Regions from separate parts of the Homo sapiens genome. Here all the other regions are linked to region 3. The links are contacts of gene promoters, found by promoter capture Hi-C in blood cells and fetal thymus (Javierre and others, 2016). All regions are on one chromosome and are shown on one strand. Each heading gives the region's core, a stretch centred on a gene start or on the middle of the fragment in contact. The rest is flanking DNA. Distances are from core to core; before and after follow the strand shown.

The links. Contacts are between HindIII fragments. The CHiCAGO score rates a contact against its expected background, and 5 or more counts as called.
Region 1: a fragment that was not itself captured here is called in contact with the fragment with the promoter of MKX in region 3 in 1 of 17 cell types (naive CD8 T cells); the score reaches 5.8 in naive CD8 T cells.
Region 2: a fragment that was not itself captured here is called in contact with the fragment with the promoter of MKX in region 3 in 3 of 17 cell types (endothelial precursors, naive CD4 T cells and naive CD8 T cells); the score reaches 5.8 in endothelial precursors.

Annotation. Positions count from the first base shown.
Region 1 is chr10:28,364,635-28,367,334 of GRCh38, forward strand. No RefSeq gene overlaps it. Among named protein-coding and RNA genes, the nearest start is that of MPP7-DT, 63 kb to the left of the region's middle. The HindIII fragment of the contact is 378 bases long and covers 1,125-1,502 here.
Region 2 is chr10:28,288,479-28,291,178 of GRCh38, forward strand. The region is part of intron 1 of MPP7 (MAGUK p55 scaffold protein 7); the gene reads right to left. MIR8086 (microRNA 8086) reads right to left here and starts at 872; the gene lies at 780-872. The HindIII fragment of the contact is 3,927 bases long and covers 1-2,700 here.
Region 3 is chr10:27,744,437-27,747,136 of GRCh38, forward strand. MKX (mohawk homeobox) reads right to left here and starts at 1,383. Exons shown (of 7, transcript NM_173576.3): 1 at 1,271-1,383. It overlaps MKX-AS1 (MKX antisense RNA 1), which reads left to right and starts at 179. Exons shown (of 2, transcript NR_121652.1): 1 at 179-512. RefSeq lists an enhancer at 874-1,464. The HindIII fragment of the contact is 8,324 bases long and covers 1-2,441 here.

The DNA of each region.
Region 1 (2,700 bases), core at 64-2,563, 620 kb after region 3:
ACACCACTGTACTCCAGCCTAGGCAACAGAGCGAGACCCTATCTCAAAAAAATAAAAATAAAAAAACAAAGTCTACCACCACCCTATCACCTAAAAGCCATTATTACTGCCTCAGAAAAGTTAGCCAACTTAATGATTATAATTAAGAAAACTTTTCTAACAGAAAGTGCTATGATGATCTATTACACAAATTATTTTGAAAAACATTTTTTAAAAAATGATACTAATGAAAAAAAATCACAACAGGTATAATACAACCTAAACTCATTTACAAGTATGAAACCCCCACACATCCTAGCCTTGATTTTAAAATAATACTGAAATATTTACAAGTCAAACATTCTTAAGTTTATATATATATATATAAAATAAAATACATATATTTTTACAGACAGAGTTTTGCTCTGTTGCCCAGGCTGGAATGCAGTAGTGCAATCTCAGCTCACTGTAACCTCTGCCTCCCAGGCTCAAGCAGTTCTCAAGCCTCAGCCCCCTGAGTAGCTGGGACTACAGGTGCACACCACCACGCCCTGCTAATTTTTTTATTTTTAGTAGAGACAGGGTTTCACTATGTTGGCCAGGCTGGTCTCGAACTCCTGATCTCAGGTGATCTGCCTGCCTCGGCCTCCCAAAGTGCTGGGATTACAGACGTGAGCCACTGCGCCCAGCCTTAAGTTATGTTTAAAAAAAAACATTATAAAAGTGCAATTTTTAAAAATCCTAATGCAAGAAGACAATATGGAGACAATAAAGGGGTTTTATCCTAAGTACTACTTTGGGACCCTGGAAATGTTTTAAAAGACTCAATTGTTGCTACCACGTGACCTGGCTTCATATCTTTTTCCAGTCCAGGTTGTGGCACATGAAATCTAGAGCTCTCCTATTGCCTGCTGTGGAAGACAGAAATTACAGAGGAAGGAGAGGCTCACAGAGAAAAGAAGGAAAAATAATAAGGAAGAGGAAAGACAGAATAGGAAAGAGTTGGAGGAGAAAAACAAAAATAAAACAGGTTGAGAAAAATAGGATAAGTGAAAAAAGGAGGAAGAAGGAGAAAGAGTGATGAAAACAACATATGAAGGAAACTGAAAAGTGAGCTGCTTATGCAGATTTAGGGGTAAAGGAAAAGCTTCACCTCCGCCCTCTGAAAGATGTGCTGAACATGAATGGACAATAGCCAGGTTAATAGAAGAAAACAGCAAACAAATGTATGTAATGTGCATTAGCACAGGGGAGTCACAGAAGGATGATTACCCAGTAACCCAATGAGGCTCAGTTGCTTTTATATCCTTCTTTGTGGAGGAATGGGAGAAAAGGGAAATATGGCTATTTTTAGACGTAGTGAATGATTTATAGGGGAGATGAATGAGCCCCATGCTCAGACAATGGTAAGTAAATGATTCTCTTTGGAAATTGAATGGGATCAGAGAACAGATGATAGTTTGGGACAAAGTTCATCTGGGCTCCAGGTGTGGTGTTTCACTTTCAGTCTCCTCTGTGATACAAGCTTTAATCTTCTCAGGTTAATGAAATTTCAGGGAGGATATTGAAGGCAATTGTGTTCCTTTTTGGCGGGTCCAGTTTCTACCTAGATTAGGGAACTTCAGAGAACATTCTCTTCTTGTGCATTTGGGAGAGACAGAAGGTGAAGAGACAGGAGTTGGAGGTGGGGAGAAGGTCAGAGTGAACTTGAGGCTGCTTCTTTATTTCAGTATGTCAAAGCACCATATTTTGGGGTATCGTTTGCTGATCCCCAACATGTATGCAGTGTTTACATATAATTTGCTTCTATCTTTATAGACTGGGGTGTATAATCCAGTGGTTTTCAGATTTGCTTTCATTGTTACTATTTAAAAAGCTAAAGGGTACAACGTTCATTATTTGGGTGATGGGTAAGCTAGAAGTCCAGTCCCACCAGGATGCAACACACCCATGTAACAAACATGCACGTGCACCCCCTGAATCTAAAATAAAATAGCTAGAAGCTGGGCGTGACTGTTCATACCTGTAATCCCAGCACTTTGGGAGGCTTGGGCAGGTGGATTGCTTGAGCTCAGGAGTTCAAAACCAGCCTGGGCAACATAGCAAGACCCCATCCCTACAAAAAATACAAAACTTAACCAGGTGTAGTGGTGCACACCTGTGGTTCCAGCTACTCAGGAGGCTGAGGTGGGAGGATAGCTGGAGCCTGGGAGGTTGAGGCTGCAGTAAGCCATAATTGCACCACTGCACTCCAGCCTGGGTGACAGAGCAAGACCCTGTGTCATAAAAAATAAAAATAAAAATAGATAGAAAGTCTTATAATTTTCTTTTTCTTCTCACCCACCCATGACATTAATCTAGAATTAGGTGGAGCAGGCAAAAGAGGAGAGATTGGGCCCCTGGGAATTTGTACCGAGTCGCAAATGGCTCATGAGTTACTGAGAACCCTCACTGGAGAACACGTGCCTTGTGGAAACCCTCTTGTGATATAAGCAGCAGGGGCACCCCTGCCAGTTTCAAAATCGTGTGACAAATGGACACAGACCTGTGCCCCCCACTGTCAGAGCCTATCTGCTCTCTACAGGGGCTTCCTTTTGAAGAGTCAAGCTTCTTGCCAAGCTATCTTTCAGCCAAAAACCATTTTCCTCTAGTTTACAGGAAAAAGAGGAAGAAAAAGCCCACCCATCCTTTTCTGGGTTGATTATTTTCCATTTGAAATTA
Region 2 (2,700 bases), core at 147-2,646, 540 kb after region 3:
GATCGTCCCACCTCGGCCTCCCAAAGTGCTGGGATTGCAGGAATGAGCCACCACACCCAGCCAGGTTATTATGTTTTATTGAATTCATAAATACTCTAAAATTTCCCACTTATATTTCTAATATGGTAAACATTGATAGATATAACTCATGTAAAGCAAAGGTCTTTGAGGTCCTTAATAATTGTTAAGAGCGTGAAGCGGTACTGAAACAAGTCTGAAAACTGCAGCTCCAAGGATATGGAGCTGAGGTCAAGGCTGTGCTTGTTCAAGTGAGCCTTCAGGAATTACCTTATTCTTTGAGTTCCTGTTTGAACAAACGCTAAAAGTTGGAAGCTCAGCAGAGCCCAATGTCTGGCCTAGAGCACCAAGAACCACCAGCCACAGCCATCCTGAGAAAGGGCCTTATGAGCAGAATATTTTGTATTAGGCTCGGGTGTGAGGTTAGAAGACCTCGGGTGGGGGAAGTCAGCAGCACTTTTTCCTTCTTAGCTCAGCACATACCTCTTTCTTGAGATTCTGGTCTCAAAAATAGCTAACCAGGCCAGGCATGGTGGCTCACACCTGTAATCCCAGCACTTTGGGAGGCCGAGGTGGGCGGATCATTTGAGGTCAGGAGTTCGAGACCAGCCTGGCCAAAATGGTGAAACCTCGTCTCTACTGAAAATACAAAAAATTAGCCAGGTGTGGTGACACACACTTGTAGTCTCAGCTACTCAGGAGGCTGAGGCAGGAGACTCGCTTGAACCCAGGAGGCGGAGGTTGCAGTGAGCCAAGACCATGCCACTGTACTCCAGCCTGGGCAACAGAGCCAGACTCCATCTCAAAAAAAAAAAAAAGCTAACCATATCAGTCCAGACTAGCAGACTAGTGGATTAAGGAAGCTGAGATGAACTGTTTCCCGTGCGCTTCCTCCTCTGGTTAACTCAAGAAATATCAAAACAGCCATCCCAACCAACAGAAATCTCTGCCTTTTTAACAGACTGGTAAATTCTTCAGGACCAGACTTAACACAAAAGTCACTTAAATCTTAAGAACTGGGGCAAGAAGTGCAGTCTCAGCTCTCCAATATTTTTTTGCGTGTTTAAGAGATGTGTGGCCAAGAGCTCACAAATACAGTGTCTAAGGTGAGTGGGCCACTATGGAGACTTTGCCCTTGAATCTGCGTGAAACGGCAAGGTTCTGAGCAAATGAGTGACAGGATCCACCCGAACCCACTCTGGGCTTTGGGTGGAGAAATGGAGAAAAGGTTTTAGGGGCAGGGGCAAGAGCAGAGAAGTCACTACAGTAAGCCACATGACAGATAATGATTTACTTCTTCCCAAAAAGGCCGAAACATTGATTTTATTTTTTTCCTCTTTGAGACAGAGTCTCATGCTGTCACCCAGGCTGGAGTACAGTGGTATAATCTCGGCTCACTGCAACCTCCGCCTCCCTGGCTCAAGCAATGCTCCCATCTTAGCCACCCAAGTAGCTGGGACCATAGGCATGTGCCACCACGTCCAGCTAATTTTTGTATTTTTTGTAGAGATGGGGTTTCACTATGTTGCCCAGGTTGGTCTCAAACTCCTGAGTTCAGGCCATCCATCTGCCTCGACCTCCCAAGGTGTTGGGATTACAGGCGTGTGCCACTGAGCCCAGCCAAACCATTGATTTCTAATGCTATTACGCTACTATTGATACATACAGTACATAAAGATCTTCTATTAGTTTCTCTTGGAGCAATAACAAAATAAAAGTATGCCTTGTATTGATGCCCTATATCCTTTACTAAGTGGCCCCACTCACGAATTACAGTCTTTTTACTTTCCTTTTTTTTTTTTTTTTTTTAACATAGAGAGTATTTCCAGCATATACTAAACTGGAGGAAAGAGTATAATACTACAAGGAAACTTCTTGAACTTCTTACCTACCTTCAATTTATGGCCAGTCTTACTTTATCTGCAACTGCCCCACCTCCCCATCCCAGCTTATTATAAAGTCATTTTTAATCAGATTTTGTTTTGTTTTGTTGAGATAAGAGATTCGCTTTTGTTGCGCAGGCTGGAGTGCAATGGCACAATCTCGACTCACTGAAACCTCTGCCTCCCAGGTTCAAGCGATTCTCCTGTCTCGGCCTCCCGAGTAGCTGGGATTACAGGCGCATGCCACCACAACCAGTTAACTTTTGTATTTTTAGTACAGATGGGGTTTCATCACATTGGTCAGACTGGTCTCGAACGCCTGACCTCAGGTGATCCACCCACCTCAGCCTCCCAAAGTGCTGGGATTACAGGCATGAGCCACCACGCCCGGCCCCAATCAGTTTTCTTATTAAACAAAAAGGATTTTAGGAAAACAGACTAACACGTGAAAGAAGTAACTCACCTAGAATCTTAATGCCCATTACTGATATGAATTGAACTGTTTTTATTTGAACATTCACACTCATACAGATATGAATTAACAGTACATGGACAATATAGAGTTGTACATGAAAATTAACTTATTCTCTTGTTACAAAATTAGGATTATCCTGATGACACGATTTTGTAAACTTTTGCCACCATATATTAACAATGTCCATGGAGAAGAAGAATAAATGCCTACTGCTGCACAGTTTAGGATGTTTCTAGTATTTCAGGATATTAGAATATTATCATGAACAGCTACATATATAAATTTAGTGAACATCTACTAACATGTACTAGCAAATGCCAAACA
Region 3 (2,700 bases), core at 133-2,632:
CTGTCGGGGAGAGCCAGCAGCTCACCTCTGGGGTCGCGGAGGCCCTGAGCCTCTGCCTGCCGCGCACCGGCGTCAGGAGCAAGTCCGCGCGGCCGCGGAGCCGCAGAGTTACAGCCCCAAGGCGCGCGGCGGACTTCGCCCGCCCCATCTCCTCGCCTCGCGCCTCGGGACAGCTCCCGTTTCCTCCGAGCGGCCTCAGCTTCGCTGCCAGCGCCCCCTTTGCCCGTCCAGCCGCGGCATGGGCTGCTACTCCACTAACACACGCGCGCGCGCATACACACACACACACACACACACACACACACACACCCTTTGCCTCGCCAAGCGCCCACACTCGCCAACGCCCCCGCCCCGCCCTTCGGCCACCGCAGCAGAGGCCACGCGTGACATTTAGGACCACGCGTGACCACCGCGATCAAACGACGGCTACGGTCTGTGTTCGTAGGGAAGTGAAGTCAGACCTCTGCTGGATGTCGTGTGTCCCCTAGGACTGCGTCCTCCCGCGCAGACAGGTACGTGCCTGGGGTGTGCACATAGCCTCGGTGATAAGTGTCAAAGAGAATTTTCGTGCTTGCAGCCCCTGTTCTACAGTCAAGACTCGCGTTGGTGTTTTCTTTTAAAATCATGCCCTTAGGGATGTGTGTTCATGCTGCTTTATTTGTACAAGACACCCTTCCCCGGCCCGGCCTTCTCCGAGCCACCCCAGCGCGTCCTCCTAGATGCGACGACGTGTTTTTCCTAGCGAAGTCATCACGAGGTTAGCCACCTCGGACACTTCCCCGGCAGCCCCAAGCCCACGCAGAGATCGCAGACACAGACACCCGGCGCGCTGTAGGTCTGCAGGCAGCAGGCTCAGAGGCAAGCGATGGCAAAGGTCCGAGCGCTGTCCTGTCGCAAGGGGTCCGGGGGCGTGTGAACCACACTTGCTGACCCTCCCAGGACTCCCGCGCGCGGCCACCCGCGCCTCTTCTCAAATCACTTACCCCGATTCACTCCAGACTGTGGCCGGGGAGGTCACTCCCTGCAGAAGTGTCCCCCTCCCCCAACGCCGGCGAATAATTTTAAAGCAAAGGAGGCGCGGCCAGGTGGGCTCCCAAGCTCCGCGCAGACCCTTGGGCCAGCCTTGGCCGCTACCCGAGCGCCTCTCCACCAGACCTTGGAGGGAAGTTGGGGGAAGGGCGGGAGAGCACCGGCGCCCAGGGCGCAGGGGCCAGAGCGAGCCTGGCGTTCCGCCGCAGCCGGCTGAGACTCGGCGACGCGGGGGCTGTACCTGTGGCTGCGGGGCCGACGGCCGGCTGCAGGGCGGCTGGCTCTCCCGCCTCGAGACTAGGCGCACTCCCATCCCCGCCGCATGTTCTCCACGCGGGCTCCAGCGCGCTCACCACCGCCACCGCCGTCGTCTCGGCTTTATTTACCCAGCCCGGCGCGCGCCGCCCGGGAACAGGAATAGCGAGGCCTTCTCATGTTTCCTGACTGCCGGTCCCAGCCGGCGAACATCCTGCGGGCGCGGTATCCACGTTCCCGGGCGGGTGGAGAGGAAGCGTCCGCGCCCGCCCGGCCGCGGGGGCTGCTGTTAACCCCTAGCAGAGGAGCCGCTGCCGGGGAGCCCCGGGCCCGCCGAGTCCTCCGGAGCCGGGCGCGGCTCCCAGATCCGCCGGCCTTGCAGTCGTGGAGCAGACGGGGCTTTTCCCTTCGCACTTTAGGAGAGAAATTGGAGAAGCTGCCGGGAGCGCTCGGCTCCGGCTCCAGAAGCTGAGAGGCTGCGGTGCAAATCCCGTGTCTTAGCTGGCCCGATTGCCGGAAATTTCACTGCGCGTGGCTAGGCGGGAGAGGCCACTGTGACGCGCCCTGTATTTTCCTCTCGATTAGCTGGAGGGAAGTTAGAGCTCCGTTTTGCACCTACAGCCCTGGAGCGTATTGCGGGAAGTGCTAGTGCCCAGGAGCCTCTTTTCTGATGTCACTGGGCTTCTGGGGTCCTAGTTGTCTCAGTCAAAGCCAGGCACACATTCACCTCCGGGGCAAGGGCTGGTGAGGCTGCCCTCGCCGCTGGGTATAGGGATGGGGGAAAGCAAGGATGGGATGAGTTCAGCCCAGGTGGCCAACCCGCGGTGGCCCAAGTGCAGAAGAGGAAGCGCGCCCAAAGCCAAGGATCTGCACGCAGCAAAGGAGATGGAACTTAGAAGAATCACAAGCTGGGACACAGGGCAAAGAGAGAGAATGGCTACCAGATTCTCTGATTGATGATACTTTGCTTCCTAACATTACCGCAAATATAAGTAGCGAAAGCGGCGGTTTAGGTGCAACTGCAAGCTCAGAGCTTCTGGCAGCCCAGAAGATCCCCAAGGTGCCAACACGAAGCTGCCTGCGCTCTCGCCGAAGGCCCTGTGGTCCTAGCGAACTTTCGCCCTTTTTAAAGAACAAACTTAGATTTCCCCCCACCAAGCTTAAAGAAATAGCGCCATTTGTCCTTTTCCCCTCTAAATGCGGCTGGCCAGAGCCGGGGCAGTGGCCCACCTTAGCATCTTCTTCGTGTGTGTGTGTGTGTGTGCGCGTGTGTGTGTGTGTGTTTGTGTGTTGGGGGGGTCGCTAGAAGTGCTTAAAATATATACCAAAACTATTATTTTAAAGACTAATCACACCCTCAAATTTCATATGTGTCACCTCCCAAATTACGCGATAGCAAACCGTTGTGCAGGGGTA